7 separate regions of the Homo sapiens genome follow, and all the other regions are linked to region 5. Evidence: promoter capture Hi-C in 16 types of primary human blood cells and fetal thymus (Javierre and others, 2016). All regions are on one chromosome and are shown on one strand. Each heading gives the region's core, a stretch centred on a gene start or on the middle of the fragment in contact. The rest is flanking DNA. Distances are from core to core; before and after follow the strand shown. Region 1 overlaps PKHD1L1 (PKHD1 like 1). Region 2 has its middle 14 kb from the start of NCRNA00250. Region 3 overlaps EBAG9 (estrogen receptor binding site associated antigen 9). Region 4 holds the start of ZFAT (zinc finger and AT-hook domain containing). Region 5 holds the start of LONRF1 (LON peptidase N-terminal domain and ring finger 1). Region 6 holds the start of PLEKHA2 (pleckstrin homology domain containing A2). Region 7 overlaps PCMTD1-DT (PCMTD1 divergent transcript).

What was found. The method cuts DNA at HindIII sites, captures the fragments that hold promoters and counts their contacts. A CHiCAGO score of 5 or more calls a contact.
Region 1: a contact is called between a fragment that was not itself captured here and the fragment with the promoter of LONRF1 in region 5, in 1 of 17 cell types (naive CD8 T cells). The highest score is 6.2, in naive CD8 T cells.
Region 2: a fragment that was not itself captured here is called in contact with the fragment with the promoter of LONRF1 in region 5 in 1 of 17 cell types (naive B cells); the score reaches 6.1 in naive B cells.
Region 3: a contact is called between a fragment that was not itself captured here and the fragment with the promoter of LONRF1 in region 5, in 1 of 17 cell types (total CD4 T cells). The highest score is 6.3, in total CD4 T cells.
Region 4: the fragment with the promoter of ZFAT here is called in contact with the fragment with the promoter of LONRF1 in region 5 in 1 of 17 cell types (naive B cells); the score reaches 5.3 in naive B cells.
Region 6: the fragment with the promoter of PLEKHA2 here is called in contact with the fragment with the promoter of LONRF1 in region 5 in 1 of 17 cell types (non-activated CD4 T cells); the score reaches 6.9 in non-activated CD4 T cells.
Region 7: a contact is called between a fragment that was not itself captured here and the fragment with the promoter of LONRF1 in region 5, in 1 of 17 cell types (naive CD8 T cells). The highest score is 5.6, in naive CD8 T cells.

What each region holds. Positions count from the first base shown.
Region 1 is chr8:109,535,413-109,538,887 of GRCh38, reverse strand. It overlaps PKHD1L1 (PKHD1 like 1), which reads right to left. Exons shown (of 78, transcript NM_177531.6): 78 at 1,681-3,475. Among named protein-coding and RNA genes, the nearest start is that of EBAG9UORF, 2.6 kb to the left of the region's middle. The HindIII fragment of the contact is 518 bases long and covers 1,259-1,776 here.
Region 2 is chr8:134,822,056-134,825,253 of GRCh38, reverse strand. It overlaps a transcript of ZFAT not described here. Among named protein-coding and RNA genes, the nearest start is that of NCRNA00250, 14 kb to the left of the region's middle. The HindIII fragment of the contact is 5,364 bases long and covers 1-3,198 here.
Region 3 is chr8:109,552,028-109,555,053 of GRCh38, reverse strand. It overlaps EBAG9 (estrogen receptor binding site associated antigen 9), which reads right to left. Exons shown (of 7, transcript NM_004215.5): 3 at 1,111-1,189; 4 at 167-325. Among named protein-coding and RNA genes, the nearest start is that of EBAG9, 13 kb to the right of the region's middle. The HindIII fragment of the contact is 1,613 bases long and covers 685-2,297 here.
Region 4 is chr8:134,711,562-134,714,643 of GRCh38, reverse strand. It overlaps ZFAT (zinc finger and AT-hook domain containing), which reads left to right and starts at 1,613. Exons shown (of 16, transcript NM_020863.4): 1 at 1,613-1,799. The coding sequence starts at 1,781. RefSeq lists an enhancer at 1,602-1,781. The HindIII fragment of the contact is 8,105 bases long and covers 1-2,330 here.
Region 5 is chr8:12,753,970-12,757,134 of GRCh38, reverse strand. It overlaps LONRF1 (LON peptidase N-terminal domain and ring finger 1), which reads left to right and starts at 1,609. Exons shown (of 12, transcript NM_152271.5): 1 at 1,609-2,435. The coding sequence starts at 1,715. RefSeq lists silencers at 1,111-1,780, 1,861-2,200, 2,204-2,394, 2,291-2,830, 2,881-2,960 and 1 more and an enhancer at 1,316-2,135. The HindIII fragment of the contact is 11,195 bases long and covers 1-3,165 here.
Region 6 is chr8:38,899,609-38,902,912 of GRCh38, reverse strand. PLEKHA2 (pleckstrin homology domain containing A2) reads right to left here and starts at 1,567. Exons shown (of 12, transcript NM_021623.2): 1 at 1,468-1,567. It overlaps LOC124901937 (a long non-coding RNA gene), which reads left to right and starts at 1,468. Exons shown (of 2, transcript XR_007060893.1): 1 at 1,468-1,700; 2 at 2,217-3,304. RefSeq lists silencers at 896-1,565, 1,646-2,055 and enhancers at 2,656-2,905, 2,966-3,155. The HindIII fragment of the contact is 6,068 bases long and covers 19-3,304 here.
Region 7 is chr8:51,900,538-51,903,594 of GRCh38, reverse strand. The region is part of intron 1 of PCMTD1-DT (PCMTD1 divergent transcript); the gene reads right to left. Among named protein-coding and RNA genes, the nearest start is that of PCMTD1-DT, 2.8 kb to the right of the region's middle. The HindIII fragment of the contact is 2,805 bases long and covers 244-3,048 here.

The DNA of each region.
Region 1 (3,475 bases), core at 268-2,767, about 97 Mb before region 5:
GCCTTTAATTTTTTTTTTTATTACAGCTGCCTTTGTTCTCCCACCCTGACCCAGCAACCACCTACCCACTTAACTTTGTGATAATCTACCACAACCGTCCTCTTTCCAATTTGCACCACGTTTTTTATTAATAATTTAATTTCCAAGACGGGAAAGATGTGTTTATGGCTCGTGCTCTGGAATGGTTCTGTGTAAAGTTGGGTAAAATTATTTAATCTGTTCACCTCAATTTCCTCATCAGTAAAATGGCCATAATAGTGCCTACTTCATGCAGTAGTAATGCTTGCAAAGCTCTCTTAGCACAGAGCCTGGCACATAGCAAACATTCATAGATAACAGTTGTTGCTGCAGCTACTACTACTACTGCATTACTATTGCATTACTACAGTATCATTTCCGGTAATTGCATTTCCCAAAGGCCATGCAACCCCTTTCAGTCCCTTAAACACCTGCTCTAACTTTAATCTCTAGAATTCTAATGCCTAAATTTCAATATAAAATTTCTAAATTTTTTTTGGATTTAAAAAATCGAGTTATCTAGCTGGGCACGGTAACTCATGCCTGTAATCTCAGCACTTTGGGAGGCCGAGGCAGGAGGAACGCTTGAGCCCAGGAATTTAAGACCAGCCCAGGCAACGGGCGAAACTCCGTTTCTACAAATAATTTAAAAATTAGCCAGGTTTGGTGGCGCATGCCTGTAGTCCCAGCTACTCAGAAGGCTGAGGTGGGAAGAATCACCTGAGCCTGGGAGGTCGAGACTACAGTGAGCCATGATTGGGCCCTGCACTCCAGCCTGGGAGACAGAGCAGGACCCTGACTCAAAAAAAAAAAAAAAAAAAATCCAAAATAACCTATATTCGGATATAAACGTGTTTAAATTTTTTTTCTTAAAGAGTTGATTGCTTTAGACAATTTATTATGCCCAAGGATATTTTCTTCTTTTTCCTGATTCTTCAGTTTTCTTTATTAAATTTGCCATTTCCAAATGAAACAAAACGAAATGTATATACTTTTCCAGAAACAGCTAGTTACTGAGTACTTGTTTCCCAACACAATAGCAAAACAGAAAACAAAGCTCGCTAAAGACTGCAAATTTAAAATTTACTTTAGTAATACCTATAAAATAATATTTTAAAATCATCTTTACTTGTTAAATAGTAAGCCCATAATTGGGATCACAAGTCAATAATTTGGGATTGGGTTTAGGGACCACCTCTTGGGAACAGGGAACTTTAAGTCCTGTCCTCTCCCCAAAGCTTGTGTGGGACGGGGGTAGGAAACCACCAGATGTCAAATGGGAGGAACATAAGGGATAGAACCTGGCATATGAATTTCTTTTACTCAATGGAATATAGTAAATTCTGTCTGCTCTGTGTCCAAACCATTTTGCTCACTTTAACGCTTCTGATCAGCCTCTGCCCAATTACCAGCTTGATTTATTCACACTATCAACCTCCAGCCCACCACTTACTCTCCCCTTTCAAAGCCTACATAGGCTTTGTTCTGACTTCTCCAGCTGGGGCTAACTCTGGCCTTGTCACCTGACCTGGCCCAGGAGGTAGGAGCAGACTGCAAACACAGCCCTCTGCTTCCAGATCTTTCCCAACCCAGTTCCCTGGCTTTTCATCAAAGGGTGGGTTTTTTTTCCCTCAAACACAATTTTAGACCTGCTGTTCTGACTTGGACTTTAATGGCTTTTTATTAATGAGCAGCTGTTCACAGTTGAATACAAGATCATAAAGTCACATTCATTTCTTGATCAAGTAAAACAAAGCTTTGCCGCACATAGAGTGACATCTTTGAGCAGATACATTTGAAAGCATAGGATTTTCTGATGAGAATTTTAATGAATTGTTTTATTAATCTTCCTACTGGAGAATTTTACTTGCTTTCAAAATAATAAACATTAATATTCTGGAAAATTATAACTTCTTTTTTAATACTCAAAATCACCATATACTAGTTAGGGTCAATTGCCTAATAGAGAAATCAAACAGTCTGAAGCAGATTTTTTATTTCTTTTCTATTAAATGAAAATTAACTTTCTATGAAGCATTTAAATAAATTTTTCCTCATAATTGTTATTACAATTAGCAGTAACTTTTATTGCTAAATACAGGAAGATTCAAAATTTAGTAACAATTTAGAGTTAACCAGTTTTCTTCAGAAGGGGCCTGGTTAGAAATCAAGAAAAATAATACATATATTTTAGTAGAAATAAATTCAAATGAAAAGATGAGGTGAATTCTCATTTTGTGTTCAGTGGTGAGGTTCAGCCACATCATACTTCTGGCTAATGTCCACATCGTTATTAGATTTATGACAGAGTTCAGCTATATTATGAATTAAGTAGAGTTGATGGGAACAGCATCTGGCAGTCTAAGACCTTTTGTTATTTCTAACAGTAAATGTATTGAAATTCATACAACCAACATAAAACAGTAGTTTGTAAATCTATCTTGTACATGGATTGAGAAAGTAGAAATAAAACAACATGAAACAATGTGAGACTCATTCATTGAGCTACAGCATGATGGACATCGTGACTTTGACCTTGAACAACTTTAAGCCTCAGTTTTCTCATCTGCAAAATTAGGTTAGTAATTCCTGCTTTACGGATTTATTTTGCAAATTAAATATCATACCATATGTGGAAATGTGTTGGAAACACAGCAATAAAATCGGTGAAACCTTTGAAGCAGGCAGATTTGTTATCTTCAAGATCAGTACAATCCCCTTTAGCTCACAACATGGAATAGTGCTTCCAAGAAATAGAGGTGAATTTTATGTCATCAGCAACCAGAAGTAGACATGTCTACTAGCAATATATTAACAAAGGGAAACAGGGAGGGACAGCCAGAAGTCAACCCTCCATACCCCCGCTTCTACCTTCTTTGTTCCCTTCTTTGTTCCCTTTGTTTTAAAGGCATAGGATGAAAGAGCAGCTGTCAGAACTATGACACTTACAATCCTTCCCCTCTCTCTCCAGGCTTTTATGTACTACTCATGGGATATTTATTTCATACCAAGATCTGTTGCCAAGTTTTGTCTATTCTTTCTTCTCAGTGTCCATCATTTCAGCACATCTGGATATCAAAATGATCTGCTAACTTAGTCTTTTGTATTTTACTATTTTCCTTCCTCTAAGTCAGTTTGTTACTTTGCTGTCTGATTAATATAAATATTGTTACACCTTCTTCATAGTAACTGACCTTTTTAAATTTTCCAGTGTCTAATTCAAATTCACTTAGGAGGATATGTGTCTTGATTGTTGCTTTTTAAACTCTTAATTTTGAATTGTTTGTTTGGGGATCTCCCTCTAACCACCCATGCCCTTTAAGACATACCAGAAATTCTTGTTAAAGGAGTTGGTCTATGTATACTGTACATTTCATACAGTGAAAATTAATTTAAATCTATATTTTGTACGTAGTTCTTATTTGAAATTAAATCCTTTAAGGATTACTTTCACTTG
Region 2 (3,198 bases), core at 313-2,812, about 120 Mb before region 5:
CCCTGGGATTATAACCTTGATTTTTAATTCACGCTTCTCACTGTGAAGAGTCAGGAGTAGTGAATTGTAAGAGAGGCATATGTACCTCTTTAACCAGTTTTACATGTTATTGCTGGGAATATTAGATGGCAATAAGGAAGACAAACAGTTTCACAATGATGATCATTTTTAGTAATCACATTTAGATTTCCAAATTTTATAAGGTGGAAGAATAGACACCATAGTTATAGATGGAGAAGGGCTTTTAGACAGAAGGTCATTGTTAGGAAAATTCAAGTTTACCAATCTTGGAAAAAAAATTACACTTATGCCAGTTACATTCTATGCCTTACAGCACTGCACTGTACCAGTTTTGAATATTCTGTGTCCATAAATACACTAGTATTTGTCCAACCATGAATTCTGACTTTTAGGTTAGAAAATGTGTTCATTTAAATGATAGTTTTAACTTGAGTGAAAAAGCTGGTAATTTTTATCTTCTTTTTTCTGTATTATAATTTTTTGTCATTAATTTTGAAGATCTCATGCTATATGATTAGTTCTGTATATGACTACTTCTGTAATTGATGAACAACTACTAGAATGAATTATTGTACTTGAGCACTTAGAATCATGTCAGGAGAGGCATGAAGTAAGTAGAACATATTTGTGTAGAGATAATAATTTTACTTTCTAAAGCAGTGATTTTGAAACTCTTGCTGAGAGTGTGCTGGAGGAAGTCAAGCATTTCATCCCGGTTTCAACCAGTGCTGTTTTATTTTGATTAATTTTAAGCGTGGAAGTTTGCATAGTATTTCAGTTGAGCAAGGTTCTGTTGTTTAAAAATACGATAGCCTCTATTGTTACCATATTTGCTCTTATCACTTGCCTGCTTAAATCCTTGCTATTTTTTTATTGTTATTACGACTGATAAGACTTTTCTTTCCCTAGCTCCAACTTTATTCTTTATCTCTGATCACTTTTTCCTTTCCATGTAAACCCTGCATTCTAATTCTACTTAAATTGTTTGATGTTCCCTGAGAGGAAAATGTTATTTTTACATCTGCATGCCTTCGCACATGGAACTGCCACCATTCTCACTTGAGCTAGGCAGCACTCAATTCCCTTGGAACCTTGGTCATCTTTCCATAAAAGCAGTTATTACATTGTTTTGTAACCGTGGCCTCCCTTGAGAGCAGAGACCATCTAATTTATCTTGTATTCATACTACTTGGTGTTTATTCAGTATTCAAATGTCTGTTGAATTATTGCATTTAGAATTTGAGAAGTAGTAAAATTACTTTAATAAACACTAATGTGAATAAAATATCCCAGATCTAGTTCTGTGCAAAAGAGTTTTAGTGACAGTGTCCGACATTATGCTAAATATATAAAAGGCACCCATTTGCACTTATCATGAAGTATAATAAATCCAAAATATTTTTTTAAATTATATTAGATTCTAATGGCTTAAGTGATATCTTAGATTCAGTGATCTGATCTTAAAAGTTGATTGTGAAAGCATTTTAATAATTCTATACAGCCTTGGCTGCCTGTGATAATATTTCATATGCGATTAAAGCTGATAGACTTAAAGGGGCCTTCAAGTGTCAAGATATGTAATACAGCAATACCAACTCTAAAGGTAGAATGAAACCTGGAGCTATCCTGCCTGAATTCCTATCACTCTCCTGTCTCTCAGTAGCTGTGTTGTCTTAGGCAAGTTACTTAACCATTCTATACCTCCTTTTTCTCATCAGTAAAATGAACACAATGATAATATTACTTTATATGGCTGTGGGGAAGAGTAGCCAGGAATTAATGTATATAAGCACTTAAAAGAATGCCTGACATACAGAAAATACTCAATACATGTTAACTGTAATTAATTTGAAGTGGCTTCTTAAATCAATATTTATTGTGCATCATTTTCATCTTTTAAAGATAATTGCTTTAATACTTGAGTATCTAATTTTTTTTAAACTTAAGATTTTTAGTTAGTTACTGTGTTTTAGACTGGCAACTGTTTCAGTACTTTCCAAAACTGCTATCTCTACTGAGGTATTGTCCTGTCTCCCAGTGAAATGTAGGCTGTTCCCGTTGGATGGATTGACATGGGAGATTTGAAACTAGTTCTCCTGATTTCTGAGCTTATCATTGAGTTCCCATGACCAGGTGTTGGTAGTGTCCACAACAGAGCAGGAAGAGAAATAGTACAGAATTCCAGTGGCAAGTTCTTAAGCCTTAACCTGTACTTTAAGTCAGTCCTAAACTTTCATATTCCTTAGTAGAGAACAGATGTTCCCCTTTTTTTCCCCCACATTTTCCTTTTTTGGCTTGGGGGAATAGATTTTTTAAAAATCTGAATTTATATTCCAAAAAGGCATGTGCAAGTTAATTTTCCTAAGTCAATGAAGCCGCTTTTTAATCTTACTTTGTAAGATGCATACCTGCAGTGAGAGAAGTAGGTAGGGCTTTAGTAATTTGTGTCAGGGACCATGTCCTATTAAATCCTGTGAAAATATGCACATGTAGTACACAAAGAAAAATTTAAGGGAAGAAGAGTTTTTTCCAAGTTATTTTATAAAGTATTCTTTATAAAAGTATATTTCTTGTAATAATCCCCCATCTGTCCTTCTAGCCCACCTTTACTTTCTCACACTTATGCTCTCATAACAATTAAAATATAATCAAAGTTACTTGGGTAACTTAAAAAATTTTCATTATAGGAAGGAAATGTGTTTTGAAAATCAGAAATTTTTCAAATTTTAATAAATTTTAGTGTTTTTTATGCAAGCTGTGAGTTGAAGATGAGGGGCTGGGATATAAAGCTAAATCGGGTACTTATCTTTATTACTTATGACCTACTAGGGTGTCCAGAGTATGCAGAGAACATATGGGAATTTGGAAGCTGGGAATGGAGACTGGAAAAGTGCTGGATTTTGAATAGTGCCAGGAAATAAAGGAAGACTTAGCAAGGGATCATTTTTCAATGCCAGTGACATGCTGTGTAATAGTCTACCATGGGAAATTTGAATGCTTATACGATTGGTCAGTATACTAATATTGTCTTGTAATTTGAACACTAACTCTTAATATTAACAAATTTTTTTCTCAACAGCCATCGTAGGAACTTTTAAAATAGGTTTTGCATTTCCCCTGAAAATGGTGAGTTAGGTCATATTAGGAAAAATAAATTCTAGAATAAATACAATTTTG
Region 3 (3,026 bases), core at 242-2,741, about 97 Mb before region 5:
TACATATGTAACTAACCTGCATGTTGTGCACATGTACCCTAAAACTTAAAGTATTAAAAAAAAAAAAAGAAATAGGCTTTCTAATAAATGTGAATTGTATCACCTAATTTTAACTATAGGAATCTAAAAAGTAGTTTAATCTCCAAAAGCATAAATCTTAACATACTTTCTGAGTTTTCCTAATAGTTGGTGTCATGTCCTTAAAATAGTCAGGTTCCAGTTGTTCCAAAGAATTTTGTTGTGTTGCCACATTCCCATTCCCTCCTTCGATCTTTACACTGGTGGGTGCATCTTCATCCCAGGAAGTCCACTCTTCAACATCTGTCTAAATTTAATTGATCAACATTATCAGCCACAAAGGGGCAACTTAATGAACACATCATTGATGATTTATTAGAAAAATGGGCTTTCTAAAACACTGGTTTTCAAACTTTTTTAACCCACGGGAAAACATACATTTCATATCACAGATCAAAACTTGATCAAAAGTTCAAAAAATACAAGACATTCTGATATATTCTGTTCTATTTTATTCTATTATGTCCATCAAAAAACAAAAAACAAAGTAAAACGAAAGCAAATGCTCTGAAAACTGAACTGACATTAAAACTACAACTCACAGAAGGGCTGGACATTTTCACCCAAGCCTATCCAGATTGATCATCTGATAAAAAATACCAAGCTTCTCCACAGGATTTAAATAAGATGAAGTCTCAAAACATAGTATTCAAAATGTTCATGAAACAACCCAGAATTATTCAGCATATAAAAACAATACATCTAAATTTGCAAGGCAAGTTAATCAACAGATACCAACACCAAAATGATATGTTGGAATTCTCTAAGGCTTTAAAATAGCTATTATAAAAATGCTCCAACAAACAATAGCAAACACTTGAAACCAATGAAAACACAATAGAAAATGTCAACAAAGAAACAGAAGATAAAATGTAGAACCAAATAGAATTTTCAGACCAGATAAATTTAACAACACAACAAAAATTAATTTCTATTAATGATCTGCAATCCAGTTTTTAAAATATTGTTCTAGGACACTTATTCAATCTTTCAAAACAAAACAAAACAAAAGAACACACAAAAAAAACCTACCTGCTTAGGAACTGATGAATAATCAACTGTAGTTGGCAAAGTTATTTGGTCTCCACTTAATTTCCGTCCTCTGCCAGATCTGAAACAAAAATGAAATAATTTATTTCAAGAACCACCAAAACAAGCAAAGTAAAAGCACTATTATGTATGGTAATTGAAGGCTTATAAAACAAGATCTTTCTCAATTTTATGATTATTGATTTTAGTAACAGTTACTCACTAATTTATGGTAAAAAAAAGTCATAAATCAGACATCCTGTGAATGTTTTTTAAATCTTGGACAGAACAACATAACTGCTTTTTGGCTTAGGACTCAGAATTATAAACAAACTCAAGAGGAATATAAAGTCAAAAATAAAAATGCAAGACGGTTTCAGAGCATGCTCCTTGGAGTGCTGTGGGTTCTGTGGGTGAAGTTCTGGGCCACCTTTGCTGTTTTAAACAGGGTGGCTTGGCTTTTATGTTTTACACATGGGGTTTCTTGATAAGATTAACTATTAAGAAGTTTAAAAATCACTAGTTTGAACCAAATGGTAACTTACTTTTAAGGATTAGTAGGAAAAGTACCACATTCAACAGGACGTACTATAACTCAGTTGTTAAGAACATGGGCTGTGGAATCTGTGTAAACCACAGTTTTCAATGTTACTTCTATTATGTCTAGTTAGAATTACCTACTTTTCAGCCTCAACAGCCTCATCTATAAAATGCAGGTATTCAAACCCACTTTTGCAGGGTTGTTTGGATTTAATTAAGTGACATATTTAAAAACCCTAGACAGTGTGTGCCTGCTACATAGCACAACATACAAAAAATGGCAGGTAATAGAGATAATTAGTCATTTACTTCACTTCAAATAATCTATAAAAAAAAAAAGCATCAACTAAGAACTAAGAACGATAAAGTCAGCTATTTTTATTACAGATTCAAAGCTATATTTGTTTAAAGGGTGAATAGAAAAGTAATATAGTCCTTTATGAAATTTATGATACAAGCGTGTTTTTCCTTTCCATAGAGATGGGGTCCTGCTGTGTTGCCCAGGCTGGTCTTGAACTCCTGGCCTCAAGCTATCCTACCCCCTCGGCCTCCCAAAGCATTGGGATTACAGGCATGAGCTACCATGCCTAGCCAAGTCTGGTATTTTAAAATACATGGTCTAAGGTTCCTTCAGACACCAAAGAGAAGCTTATCCTAACATATGGTCAGTTTTCTTTAAAACTGAACATACAATCAATTCTAAATATGTATACATTTACAACAGAAATTTATAGTGCCAATAGGAATGTCCTTAATATTTTTACATCAAGAAAATTTCTTATCCTAGAAGTAATCTATATTTAATGAAAATTTTAAAAAATAGAAGTATAAGAAGAAAACATCTACATTTCATCACCACTGTTAACACAATGCTTCTTTTAACTTCCTGCCTTCTGGCAATTAATACCCATTTTTAATGTTGCTTTACCTGGTGAATTTCTGGCCATTCTCTTCCTCATTCTCTGGTAATTTGAACACTTAGTTTGCTCCTTTTTCTACTTCCCAAATCCTATCCTCTTGGGTGATTTCAAGTCAACCACCTAAATTTTCCATTTCTTTCTTCACTTCTGCCCCAGTGATCATCCAGAGATGATCATTTCACCCACTTGTTCTCTTGCAATACCCTGGATTTTTTTTTTTTTTTTAAATCCCAGACCACTCTACTTTTAGCAATAAGTTCAATTTAGCAGCTATCAAATGGTCATATAGCCAGAGACTGCAGTTCCTATCCTTCCTTGCAGCTAGGGGGCCATATGACTAAGCTCTGGAAAGCAGGCAGTGCAAAAATTGTTGTGTGTAACCTCTAAGTCATGTCTATATATATTAAAAAAAGAGCTGATTGCTGTCCATTTCCTCTTTTACTATACCCTCCTCTTAGT
Region 4 (3,082 bases), core at 364-2,863, about 120 Mb before region 5:
AAGGGGGAGGCTATATCTGTGAGCATATATTTAACAGACTGGACAACTTTAGGGTCTTTTCATGGTTCCGTATTTCCCAAGAACAGGGTTAAGGAGCAGGCGGGCAGTCTCCTGAGAAATCAGATGAGTCATCCTGAAGCTCAATGCCCAAGGGAGTTTTCCTCCTAAAAAATAAGTGACCCCAGAACGAAGTGTTCATTCAGTAATATGACTATGCAACAGGCGCTGAGAAAACAAGATGAAAAGGACCTATAAGGGCTGCTCAGGAAGCTCAGTCTAGTGAGGATGAACGCTGTGCAAACAGAGAAGTGGGGGATGGAGCTAGGCCAGTGAGACCAGAGCTGTGGGAACATGAAGTGTGAACTTCAGGGCTGTCCGAGAATTTCATGTTGAGCAGCAACCAAAGAGGGTTATTCCAGGAAAAGAAGAACAGGCAAAGACTAGCATTTCAGGGGAACCATGAACACAAATCAGTTTCCCAAACTTCAGTCTCCTGAAGTCTGCTTTTACACTTTTTTTTTTTGGGGGGGGGGGGGCATGTCTTTGCAGCATGTACACCATTTTAAGTTGACTGATTTTTGAAAATGTAAACGAACAATTTAAAAACTTTATATGACTACTGTAAGTGAAAAACGTTATTTGTCATGAACAGAAAATGACCTTAGAACATGGACCACATCAACTCATTACTCATGAAATAAATAACTGTCAGGCTCAGTTTGTTTCTGAGGCTAACGGGGTGACCATTGACAGAGGTAAGGGAGGGAGATAATGACAGATAGGAATGGATGCTACGTAGAAAATATGAAGTGTCTTGGAGGGTTACTTTAGATGGGTTTCGGGGGGTGAGGGTTAGGGGCTGGAAGATATCATTTGAGCCGAGGACTACAGTGTTGGAGCTAAACACCTTAACATCAAAACCAAAAACAAAGTCATTAAATTTCCACCAGACTCAGCTGCCTGCCGAAGGCTGTGCCACAAGCAGAGAAATGAATGAGCGGGTGTTGGAGGCGCGCACATCCAGTGCAGACTTGTTGTGGGACAAAAAGAGACGAGAGAGGAGGAAGTCGCCTTGTCACGTGTGATCGTAGGCCGCTCAGTGCTCTGTAGCCCCTAAAACCCAGCCGGGTGGCCCAAAGGAAAGCACCCCACGCTTCGGGAAACGCCGCAGCTTTGAGCGGGATGCAGGTTGGGAGCACCCCGATGGACACATCAGTAAACTGAGAGCAAGAAAAGTTAATTCGCTGCCCCAAGTTAGGTAGTGAGAGGTAGAGCTGGGACACGAAGCGCACCCAGAACTCTCCTTGCACGCCCAGCTCGGCGGCCCCACATGCCGCGGGTCTAGGGTCGCGCTAGCAGAGGCCTGGCACAACCGCCAGACTCCTGACCCCGAGATCCGCGCTCCGGACCTCCCGAGGGCCCCTCCCTGGGCGTGGCTCAAAACGCGGCGCAGCGGAATCCGTGAAGTGGGATAAAAAGCACGGCCTCCGACTGCGAGCATGCGCGTTAGCTCGGCCCTGCCGGGCCGCGCTCGGCGCCGGGGGAGGGTCACCCGAAGCGGACGTCCGCTACGCAGGCGTCTGCGCCCCGTGGGGAGGAGGGCGAAGACTCCATCCGCCATGTTGGATGCCGCAGATTCGCCATAACCTCGCCGGCTCTTTTCTTAAAAAAATAAAAATAAAAAGCGAAGCGTCAGCAGGGCGCCCCGCCCCCTCGGTCGGCACGGGAGGGGGCCCGGAAGAGCCCGAGGCTTTTTTTTCCTCCGCGGTGGGGCGTTGCCATGGAGACGCGGGCGGCAGGTGAGCCGGGCTGGGGGTTGGGGTGAGACGGGGTGGGGGTGGGGCGCGGCGCGGCGCGCGGAAAGCCGTTTCGAGCGTCGAGTCGGGAAGCAGTGCGCCGGCCGCCGGCCGCCGGCCGCCGGCCGCGGAGGGATCCGGGTCTGGGGAGGAGAGCGAACGTAGTTGCGTTCTGCGGCTCACGTTCAGTCGCTGGGGTATCCCGCCGCAAAAAAAAAAAAAAAGCAAGGCGGGAGCGAGTGGGAGAGCATGCGCCCGGCCGTTTCCACGGCAATGGGTGGCGTTGGGGCGCGGGCCAGCGACGGAACGCAGTGGGCGCGAGGTTCGAATCCCGGCGATGCCAGCTCTTTGACTGGACCTTGGCGGGGCTTCCTTCTTGCCTGGCCTCGGATTCCTCCTTGGCGAAATGAGTACCTCCTGCAGGCTTCCCGGCCGCCGGCTGGACCTAATAGAGTGACAGATCTTCCACTTGACACCCGGTGCAAGTCATTTAACCTTGAGCTTGGGGTCCTTCACCTGTAATTACCACAAGCTTCCACATTTGGGCACTGACTTAACACGTTTTGCTGCTCAGCTCTCTTGAGAACTCTAATTTGTAGGTCATTTATTATGAGGAACAGAAGTTCAGAGAGGTCAACTTTACACAGTTTAAAAACGACAGAGCTGGGGCTTTAAAAATTAACTTCCTCCAACTTGGGCTAAAATCCAAACTCCTGCGTGCTCGCCTGACTTGTACCTCCATCTTCTTAGAATAGGGCTTGGCTCATGTAAGTGTTCACTATATACTTAGTGAATGAAAGAACGAACGCGCTAACTGATCACGCCTGCCCATCAGTCTGGCTTTTTTTGCTGGAGTCCAAGTGACCTTTTGGAGATGCCCCGCACAGCTGCCTCTCACCAGCTTTATCTTCCGAGCCTACCAGTTCATCTACTGAAACATCTGTAGTGTGTGTCCCCATGCTGAAGGAAGTAGCGTGTCCTACCTCTAACCCCCAGGGACACCTTTCCTGACTTTAGTTCAAATAACAGCTTTGCAAGGATCCCCTCTGCACGCCAGGCAGGGGTAAAGAGCAGTCCCAGTCGTAGTCCTGCCTCCACCTGCTGCGGTGCTAGATGTGGGAGAATGTGTCCTGGAGTGACAGAGTGGGCCCAGAGCCGAATATTGGGTCAGGAGACCCGAACTATATCAGGCGTGCTTTTTTTTAATTTAATTTTTTTAATTTTTTGGGACAGAGTCCCGCACTATCACTCAGGCCGGGGTGCAATGGTGCAATCTCGGGTCACTG
Region 5 (3,165 bases), core at 360-2,859:
AGTCTCAAGGGAGTATGTGGACATCAGCTGAAAGTCACTGTTCTGCTTGTTAAGGTAGTAATTTAGGGGTTAGGATTGGATTTAAGGTTATGCTCATGACTTAATCCCAATGCTTCCCATGCCAAATGCTTAGGAGGTGCTCCTTGGATCTAGCTGCAATTTGCTTCAGGTGCAATGTGAGTGATAAATGAACTTGTTTCTGTCTGCATCCTGTTGGAACAGGAGGCTTGGCTTTTTCTCAGGCACCTCTTTTTTATTCATTCCCTTTAGGGTAATATAACTCTGTCTTTTCTGACGTTACACGACTTGTTGATTGTGTAGTGAAAACACATGAACTCAAAACATTTTTTAGCCTTAATTGCCTGTTCCTTATAAAGAGAAATATTAAACGTTTACCAATTTCATACATAGCATGCTCAGGTGAACTTTCCAATTAGCAACTTCTTTTACTTTGAAAATCTCATATATTTCTATGAAATATTACATATTTTATTAAATATTACATATTAGTCTAACGTAGTAGTAGTGGAATAGACGTGATCTTAAAATCTGTATTAGCTGTGTGATTTTTGACAAATAACTTTCCCTGTGTTTCCAATCATTTGAAAAAGGACTAAAAGTCCTAAGTGACTTCCAACATTAGCGATCTAATACCCTATCATCAAATCTGTATTTTCAGCTGAGAGCTTTAAACTTGCTGCTGTGAAGTTTAAGGGAAATAGCACCCATTATATATCAACCCGATCATTTTCTTCTGTCAGCAAAACTGCAGAGCCAGCTTGGGTTGTAGTAATACGGTGACCGCCATGTGAAACATGTTTCTTGGTGTTTTCTTTTAAAACTGCCAAATATAGACCTTAACCAGCTGTAAGGCAGTGCTTGAGGTGTGGAGACACCTGAGGAAGCTGTGGGCTTTCTCCCTCGAGGTGGGCCCACGATGAGTTTTAAGCAAGACGGGCAAGCAGTCACCTGGCACCAGGAAAAACTCCTTGCCCTCTGGAGGGAGTCGCCCCAGGAACGTGGGTTTTTTGTTCATATTTAAAGTTGAGTCCTCTAGAACCGAAGAGTCCCAGTCATCTGCCGAAGGTGCGCTCCCAGGCCCCCTGCTTGGGCGCGCCCACCTGGAACATGGGCGTAGAGCTATGAAAATGCAGACCCGCACAAGCGCGAGGCCACGCGGGGAGACCCCCGCCCGCCAGGAGTTGGGGCAGGTCCGGCCTGGGCGGGGGCGTCGGGGGAGGGGTGGTGACCCGGAGTCCCGCGCGGCAGGGGAGCGTCCCCCAACCCCCGGCAGGGGCGAGGGCCACCGCAGGTGGCGGCGTTGGCAGACAGGCAAGCGGGGACTGAAGCTCCGGGGTCCTTCCGGCTTTGTTCCGTCACGAGCCGAGCCCTCCTTTCCGGAGAAGCCAATTAGATCTCCGACGGAGGAATCATCCGACCTGCGTCCCCCACCCGGAGGGGGCTCGGAAGGGGCGGGGCCCAGCGCTTGGCTCCTCGGGAGCGCGGCCGCGGGCGGCGTGGGGGAGTCCCGGGCGCCGTCGCCGAGCCCGGCCCCGCCCTCGCCAGGCCCCGCCCTCGGGGCTTCCCGGGCGCGCGCAGCCCCGCCGTGTCCGCGCGCCACGCCCCCCTGCTCGCGGGCCGCGTGCGGAGCCGCGCGCCCGGGAGGCTCCGGGACCGTGGCGGCGGGCGGCGGCGGCGCAGCCCTCCGCGGGCCATGTCCTCTCCGGCGGTGGCGAGGACCTCCCCAGGAGGGAGTCGGGAGATGGCCCCAGCGCCGCAGGGCCGAGGCCGGTTCTGGGAAGTGGGCGGCGGCAGCGGCCATCGGCTGGAGCGCGCGGCCGCGGAGTCGGAGCGCTGGGAGCTGCTGCTCCGCCGCGGGGAGCTGCTGGCGCTGGGCGGCCACCTGAAGGGCGCGCTGGAGGCGTTCGCGGCGGCGCTGCGCCGCGGGGCCCCGGCCAGGCCCGAGTGCCTGGGCGCCCTGGTGGACTGCCTGGTGTTCAACTACCGGCTCCGCCACGGGCTGGGCTGGAGCGCGGCCCCGGTTGCAGGCGCTGACGGCGGCGCCGGCGGGCTCCTCAGATGCCTGGGCTGCCGGGGCTTCCTGAGCGAGCCGGTGACCGTGCCCTGTGGCCACAGCTACTGCCGCCGCTGCCTGCGGAGGGAACTCCGCGCCCGCTGCCGCCTCTGCCGGGACCGGCTGCCGCCCGCCACCGCCAGTGCCACTGATGCTGAAGGGACCGCCCCGCGGCCGCCGCCTCTGGCCGCCGCCATCGCCGCTTCAGACTTCAGAACCAGCGTCGTCCTCAACCACCTGGCCGAGAAGTGGTTTCCGGGCCAGCGCGAGCGGGCCCGGGCGGCCGGCAGGCTCGGGGAGCTACTGCACCAGGGGCGCTACCGGGAGGCCCTGGCCGCCGCCTGCGAGGCGCTGCGAGCAGGTGACCGCGCGGGGATGCGGCGGGGCCGGGCCGACCGCACCCTCCTGGCCCCGAGGGCCGGGGACCCGGAGCTTGTCTGCGCCCCGAGAGTCTCCTCTGCTTCCCCGGGGCCGCTGGGCCGCTGGCGTGTCGGGTCTCGGGGTGCTGGGGGGTGTGGGAGGGGGCGGCGCCCCGGGGTGCTTCGGTCATAATGGGGATCGCCCTGGGAGCCGACTGTGACGCGGCGCGGGGAGGGGCGCTCGGCGCGGGGTTCCCTCGGCCGCGGCCTGGCTGTCGGGCGCGCGCTCCCGGCGCGGAGTGGGTGACCTGGACCGAGGCCGCCCCGGCGCGGGATGGGTGGTAGCTGGGCTATCCCGAGCGGCCGCTCGCTTCCTGCCGCGCGCTTTCCGGGAATTGGCTCTCGGGCCGGGCCCGCCGCGGGGAAACGACTGCCGGGGCGGGGAGAGAATCCCCCGCGAGGGCAACTAGGCCGGGCAGGCGGCGTCTCCCTTCCTCACCCACAAAAGTCACCGGGACAATTGGGAACCGCGGGAGGGCAGAATTGCATAAGCTGGGGGCGGGGGGCGTTGTGTAACGGGTGACGTCCGGTGGGCGTGGCGGGAGCTCCGCGCGGGCGCCCGGCCCCGGGAGGCCCTGCAGGCCGCCGGGCTTGGGGCTTGGGGCGGAGCTGCCCAGGGTGGTCCCTTGCTACCTGGAAATGCCTGAACTGGTTCCTCTTGAAAGTTTCAGC
Region 6 (3,304 bases), core at 318-2,817, about 26 Mb before region 5:
TGATGCTTTCTAAAAGCTTACTCTGGCTTCTCAAAACAAGTGGGGGGCTTACAAGTCCTGTAAGCTCGCCAAAGACAGGGTCCAGCCCTCCAGAGGTAAAGGAAAAAGAAAAAATAAAGACAGGGGTTGTGTTTTGTTCATCACTGCCTTGCATGTATAATACATGTCAACTGAATGCAACTGAAATAGAAAGCAAAAACTTCTATTCTTTCAAGATCTTTTGCTTTGCTGTTTCGGAAGGCTTCGCAACCAAAGAAAAAAAATGACAAAAGAAGGGAAAATGGGACTTGGTCAGATAGATTAAGAACACCATTAGTGCAATCTTGGGACTTCAGCCCCAAGTGCATCTACAGCTCAGCCTTCAGAGCCCCCAGAGCCACAGCTGGCTTTCTGGTGGGGTGCTCTCCCCTCCCTCTTCTCTGCCGTTTACTGTCCTCTGAAAACCCCACTTGGAGCCCTAAAGAAAGAAAGGGGGCGGGCAGGAAGAAGGAATGAGAAGGGGAAGATACATCCTGAACCTGCGTTCACCAAGAAGGAAGGAAGCCAAACCCTAAGGCTAGGGCCTGGGGGCAGGGCTGGCCCCGGGGAGGAGATGTGAGGGTGCTCCGGCCGCAGCGGGCCCTGCGCCCCTCTCTGGGCGTGCAGGGACACTTTTCCCTTCTAAACGGCCTAGCTTCCCACCACCCCCCCCCACACCCTTCTTTTCTCTTTCTTTTTAAAAAAATTTTGGTGAAATCGTCTTTAGGACTGGAGGAGAAAAGGGAAGCGTGTAAGGTGAGGAAGAAGTTGGTGAGAGAGAGAACGACAGCTCCCCTCGAGGGCTCACCCAACCTGGCACCGAACCTGCATTTTAGGGCAGTCCTTTTCACTGTCTGGAGTTCCAGAAGCCCGAAGTCCAGGCTGCACCCAGAGGAAAGGACAGGAGTCCCTAGGGGAGCCTTCTAGGCCTGTCATTTAATAAGGTAGTCGGGGGAGTGAAAGAGGAGTCTCCATGGCCCAATCCGTACCCAAGGGACTTGCCTGGGGACGTTCTCTGCTCTCCTCCCCTCCCGCAGCCCGGGCAGTCGTTGCGGGGTCGGTGCCCCAGCGCCAGAACCCGCAGAGAAGTTTCGCTGCTGCAAACGTGAGAAAATGCAGCTCAGCAGAACTCCCGCCCCCACCCTCTCCGCGGCCCCACCCCCCGCAGCCCGACCCCTGGCGGCGGCGACCTTGGCCACCCGGGGCACTTGGAGGAGGGGCTGCCCTCGGGGCTCTCCCAGAGGGTTGGAGGAGGCCTCCAGGGTCTGCGGCCACCTCCCCTCGCCTGTCAGCCACTAGGACCGGCGTATTCAGCCCTGCGCGCGCGCCCCTCGCGCCCCTAGGCCGCCAGGCCTCCGCCGGGGCGCCCCCTGCACCCCCAGCCCCGCCAGCCCCCGCGCGCCCCTCTGCGCCTCTCCACTCCCGAGCCCGCGAGGGCGCCCAACTTACCCCCCCGTGCAGGGGCCGGGGCTCGGGCGGGGCGCGTTACATCGGGCGGGGTCGCCCCTCCGGCCGCCGGGTCCGCCGCGCTCCAGGGATTTCTGGGTCTGCCTGCCAAACTCTCCGCGCCTCTCGCTCCCCTCGCTCTGGTCTCCCCCAGTGCCCCCTCCTTCTCTCCCGTCCCTCGGCTCTTTTTTCCGGGTTAATTACGTTTCGCATTAAAGCAAAACCCAGCCCCGGATGTGAGTACAATGCTCCGCGGAGCCCGCCGGGGAGGGAGAGGGGTGCCGGGGCGCCGCGGGCTGGGAGGGGGTGCGGCCGGGCGCCGGGGCCGCGCGGGGGAGGCGGGGGCGGGGCGCCCGGAGGCTGCGCCCGAGGCCGCCCGCGTTCCGCGCCTGGCAGGTGGGACCTGCGCGCCGAGACTGCCCCGCGGGGAGGCCCGGCCCCGACGCTCGCTCGGGCAGCAGGTGTCCGGGCAGGGGGCGTCCTCGCAGGAGGAGGCGAGCTGGAGCGCGAGCTCCCTCAAGAACCCCATTTCCTCCTCCCAGAGCCCCACCCAGCGACCTCAGCTGGGCCTCCTTCGGATCCCGAGCCCTTAGCCTTTGGGGACCGAGGAGTTGGGGTAAGGGTTAGGGTCCCAAGAAGAGTGGCTTCTTCAGGTTGTCCTAAATGTGCCCTAAGAGACCAGTGGGCGGGAACGCTCTAACCAGGGTTATAAGGACTTTAATTTCTTTATTTTATTTTATTTTTTAATCAAGACAGGGTCTGGCTCTGTCGCCCAGGCTGGAGTGCGGTGGCGCAGTCATAGCTCACTGCAGCCTCGACCTCCTGGGTCCAGCGATCCTTCTGCCCCAGCCTCCCGAGTAGCTGGGACCACAGGCGCCTACACCGTGCCCGTTGGGACTTTTTCGGTGTGATGCGAAGACTCCCTTCCTGCCCCCAGAGCATGAGGGTGCTCTGGGAAAAAATGGGAAACAGACAAGCATGTGTTACTACGTAAACCTCGCCAAGAGGAACTAAGAGAGCTGCTGTGCGCGGGTCCCGCCCCTGCGCTATCTCATTTGATCCACGCCGCAACCTATGGGTACCAGTCCGGTTCACGGTGAGGAAACCGAGACTCAGACTTGTGAAGTAATTTGCCCTGGGTACCCAGTTAGTAAACGGCAGGTCTGTCAGGTTCTGACTCCGGCCTCCCACGTCGGGAGAGAGACATTTGAATATGCATCAAGTCAGGTGGACAACATCCGAAACATGAAAATGTAGAAGATTCGCGCGGGCCTGCGGGGCCGTGCGCCGGTGTCTGGCGATCCTAATGCAAACGTTGTTAATCAGGTGTAAATCCTACGAGGCTTTGAAAGAGGCAGGCATAAGAAGACGCTGAGGTTCTCCAGGACAAGGACTGGATTTGCAGGAAGGAGGGAGAGGCTGGGGCACATTCCCGGTGTTAACAGAGGAAAGGCGGCCTCTTATGTCTCCACGACCGACCGGAGGCCACAAGGCCTGGGGAGGGGGGCTCGGGCCGATGAGCCAGGACCGAGGGAGAAGGACAGCCCGCCCCACACACCCCGAAAGCACCAGTGATGAAACCACACAAGTTTCCTCTTCCATTTTGATTGCCAAAGCAAAAATGAACACCGCCGGTGTCTCAGGTGTGAAAAAAGACTGTTTGCTTTAGAGCATTTTGCTTTCAATGAGGAAGAAAAGGGGGACGATGGGCAAAACACACACACACACACACACACACACACACACACACACACACACACACATTTCCCTTGAAATAAATACATCAATGTCTTTTTTTTCCCCGTTCATGGAGGGTTTTGCCACTCATCTGTAAGTTTCA
Region 7 (3,057 bases), core at 397-2,896, about 39 Mb before region 5:
GTTTTGGCTCCTTGCTGGCTGTTGCATCCAATCTAATGACCACCAAAATCTGGCTGCAGTCTATCTTTCTAGGCTTAGCTCCCATTATCCTTTTTGCATTCTATGTTCTAGCTAAATCAGATTAATCTCTGCTCTTTGAAAACAAATGATCTATGTAAGCGTTATTCTTTTATATTCCATGTTCCTAAAATAGCTATTCTCTTTATCTCCATAATTCAAAAATTCTATTCAAATTTCAAAGCTTGATTCAAATTTGACTTCTGCCATGGAACACTACTATGGAGCAAGAGTATTTTATTTGTACCCTTACTATTATGTCAAGGGTCACTTTCCTCCTTCTATTATTTGAATGTAAGTTTATTAAGACAGAAGCTATATCATATATTATTGCAATATCCTCAGCATCTATCATAGTGTCAGAAAATGTTTATTGAACTTTAATAGATTCTTTAAAAAATATTAAATTTTACATATACATTAAAAAGATGTTTATCCACAGTTTTGATGCACTTAAGTTTACAAGCAGAAGTTTTCCTTTTTCTCCACTCCATGATTCTGTTTTTTAAGAAGCAGAATTTTTAATAAAGGAAAGATATTTATATAGATTAAGCACCATATAAGAGTAATTTTAACTTGTGAGTTAAAGTCACTTTTTGTTTACTGTAGACAATAAATTATAAATGCTTATTTTTCTAAAAGAAATTCATTTTTTGATAACTTATATTTCCTTTTATTGGAAGATTATCCTAGCATTAAAATCTATGTAATTGAGGGATTATATGTGCAATTTAAAATAAAATTATGCTTTCCCAAAGTCATTTAATCCTATTAATTGTCAAGTGAATATTTCAGAAATTACTGACCTTTTTAATACTGAAAATGAAATCTGCCTGTGCAGACTACATCCAATTAGAAACTAACTCCTGGGCTCAAGTAATCCTCCCATCTCAGCTTCTGGAATAGCTGGGACTACAGGCATGCATCACCACACTCAGGTAATTTTTAAATTTTTTGCAGAGATGAGGTCTCACTATGTTGCTCAGGCTGATCTTGAAATCTTGCAACTTCTGAGCTCAAATGATTCTCCCACCTCTGCTTCCTATAGGGCTGGGACTATAGTCGTGAGCCACTGTGCCTGGCCAATGACAATTCTCTTTAAGAGAGAAAATACTTCTGTTTTTGCTTTTTTTTTTTTTGCAGGGGGAGGGGGATGGTGAGGTAGGGGAGGTGATGAATTTAACTGTACTGAAAATGGTACAAGGAAATCAAACTGCAGAAAAAAACAGTTCCACATTTAGTTACATTTTAGTTTTGGGTTTTCCCCAGACATTGCAGGCCAAATTAGAGTTAAGATGAGGAAATCCTTTCAGTCCTCACAGACCAGACTTGGCTTTATAAAACATAATCAAGTCCCACTATACAACCTAGGTGTTAGGAAGCAACTAGAGTTTTCAAGGTAGATCTGGGCAACACGCAGACACCTCCATTTCTGAGGCTGAAGGAAACATGCACCAGTGCTAACTGCCACGCATATGAAAAATGTGAACTCCTAGCACGGTGACAGTAGCTGTATGCTGAATACCATTTAATTTAATAAGCATTTGTTTGTTGAATACCTTATGCATTCAAATAACAGAGCACTTCTGATACAACAATGCTTCAGCCTACACAGTATTCTGAAAGGAGTCCCAAATAGCTCAATTTTACTTTGGGTATTTTCTGCTTAATAATAAAAGTGAAGCAACCTCGTATGAAGAATTAAGTTATTACAGTAAGTGTTATTGCTGTTGCCAGGACCAAACTTACTGTAACAATGTATCAAGAACTCTAGGAATAAACTGTGTGTGGGTTATCTAAATTTATCAAAGTCTAAATAAATCTCTAAATGATTCTAGATGATAATTTAAAATTTAAATTACTCATTCAACAAATGCAGAGTATCAGTGTTGTAGCAGCCACTGTATCAGGCCCTGCAGAGAAATAGTGAGCATACTGGGTATGTGCCCAACTTTCATGATTACAAATTAGTAGGAAGTCACACACAAGAAGTGAATTATAGCCAGACGTGGTGGCTCATGCCTGTAATCCCAACACTTTGGGAGGCCGAGGCGGGTGGATCACTTGAGATCGGAGTTTGAGGCCAGCCTAGCCAACAGGGGAAACCCCATCTCTACTAAAAATACAAAAATTAGCAGGGGGTGGTGGTGCGCTCCTGTGATCCTAGCTACTTGGGAGGCTGAGGCAGAACTGCTTGAAGCCGGGAGGTGGAGGTTGCAGTGAGCAGAGGTTGCCACTGCACTCCAGCCTGGGCAAAAGAGCAAAAGACTCTGTCGCCCCCACCCACAAATGAATTATATGTGTAAGGTATGGAGGCATAATCAGAAATTACGTGAAGGTAGAGATGGGGTGTGCCTACCACAGGAAAATTACAGGTGATAGAGTGCTTTACTTGCTGTTCAACTACTCACCCACAAGACTAGCATTTGGTGTTGTTTATTAAGAAGGTATTTACTAGCAGTCTTATTTAAAAAATGACCTGTGTTTAACTTTCCAGCCGCAGAAGAGAAAAAAGGTCTAGAACCCTGAAAAATTCCCATAGCAGAAGGAAGAAAGTAAAGGAAAATATGCTTTTAAAAAATGGAGAGAAAACAGGGGAAACGGCTGTAAGAGTTGTTTAATGATTTTAGCTATTTTCCTTAGATTACCATTTGTACTTTTTTTGTTTGTTTATGGTAAGATAGTTTTCATGTGCCAAAATTTCTGCTTGGACTAACAGAAAATTCATCCTGTAAGATTGTTATATGATCCCACAACGGTTAGGAGTGCCCTGGGTCCAGGCAGAAATCCAAAGATGGAGCTAATAATGTGACCCGCAGCTCTACTCCAGAATGCAGATGAATAGAGATTTTGAACAGTTCGGAGCTCAATGTCCACTGAATATGCACTCATACTTTAAACCTAAATAAAGTGAAGCCTTTGAGTTAAATGGCAGAGCGCCTCAGCAGCAATTTTGCTCGTTTTCAAGTTCTTATTTCGTGATTTGAAGCTTTTGACCTT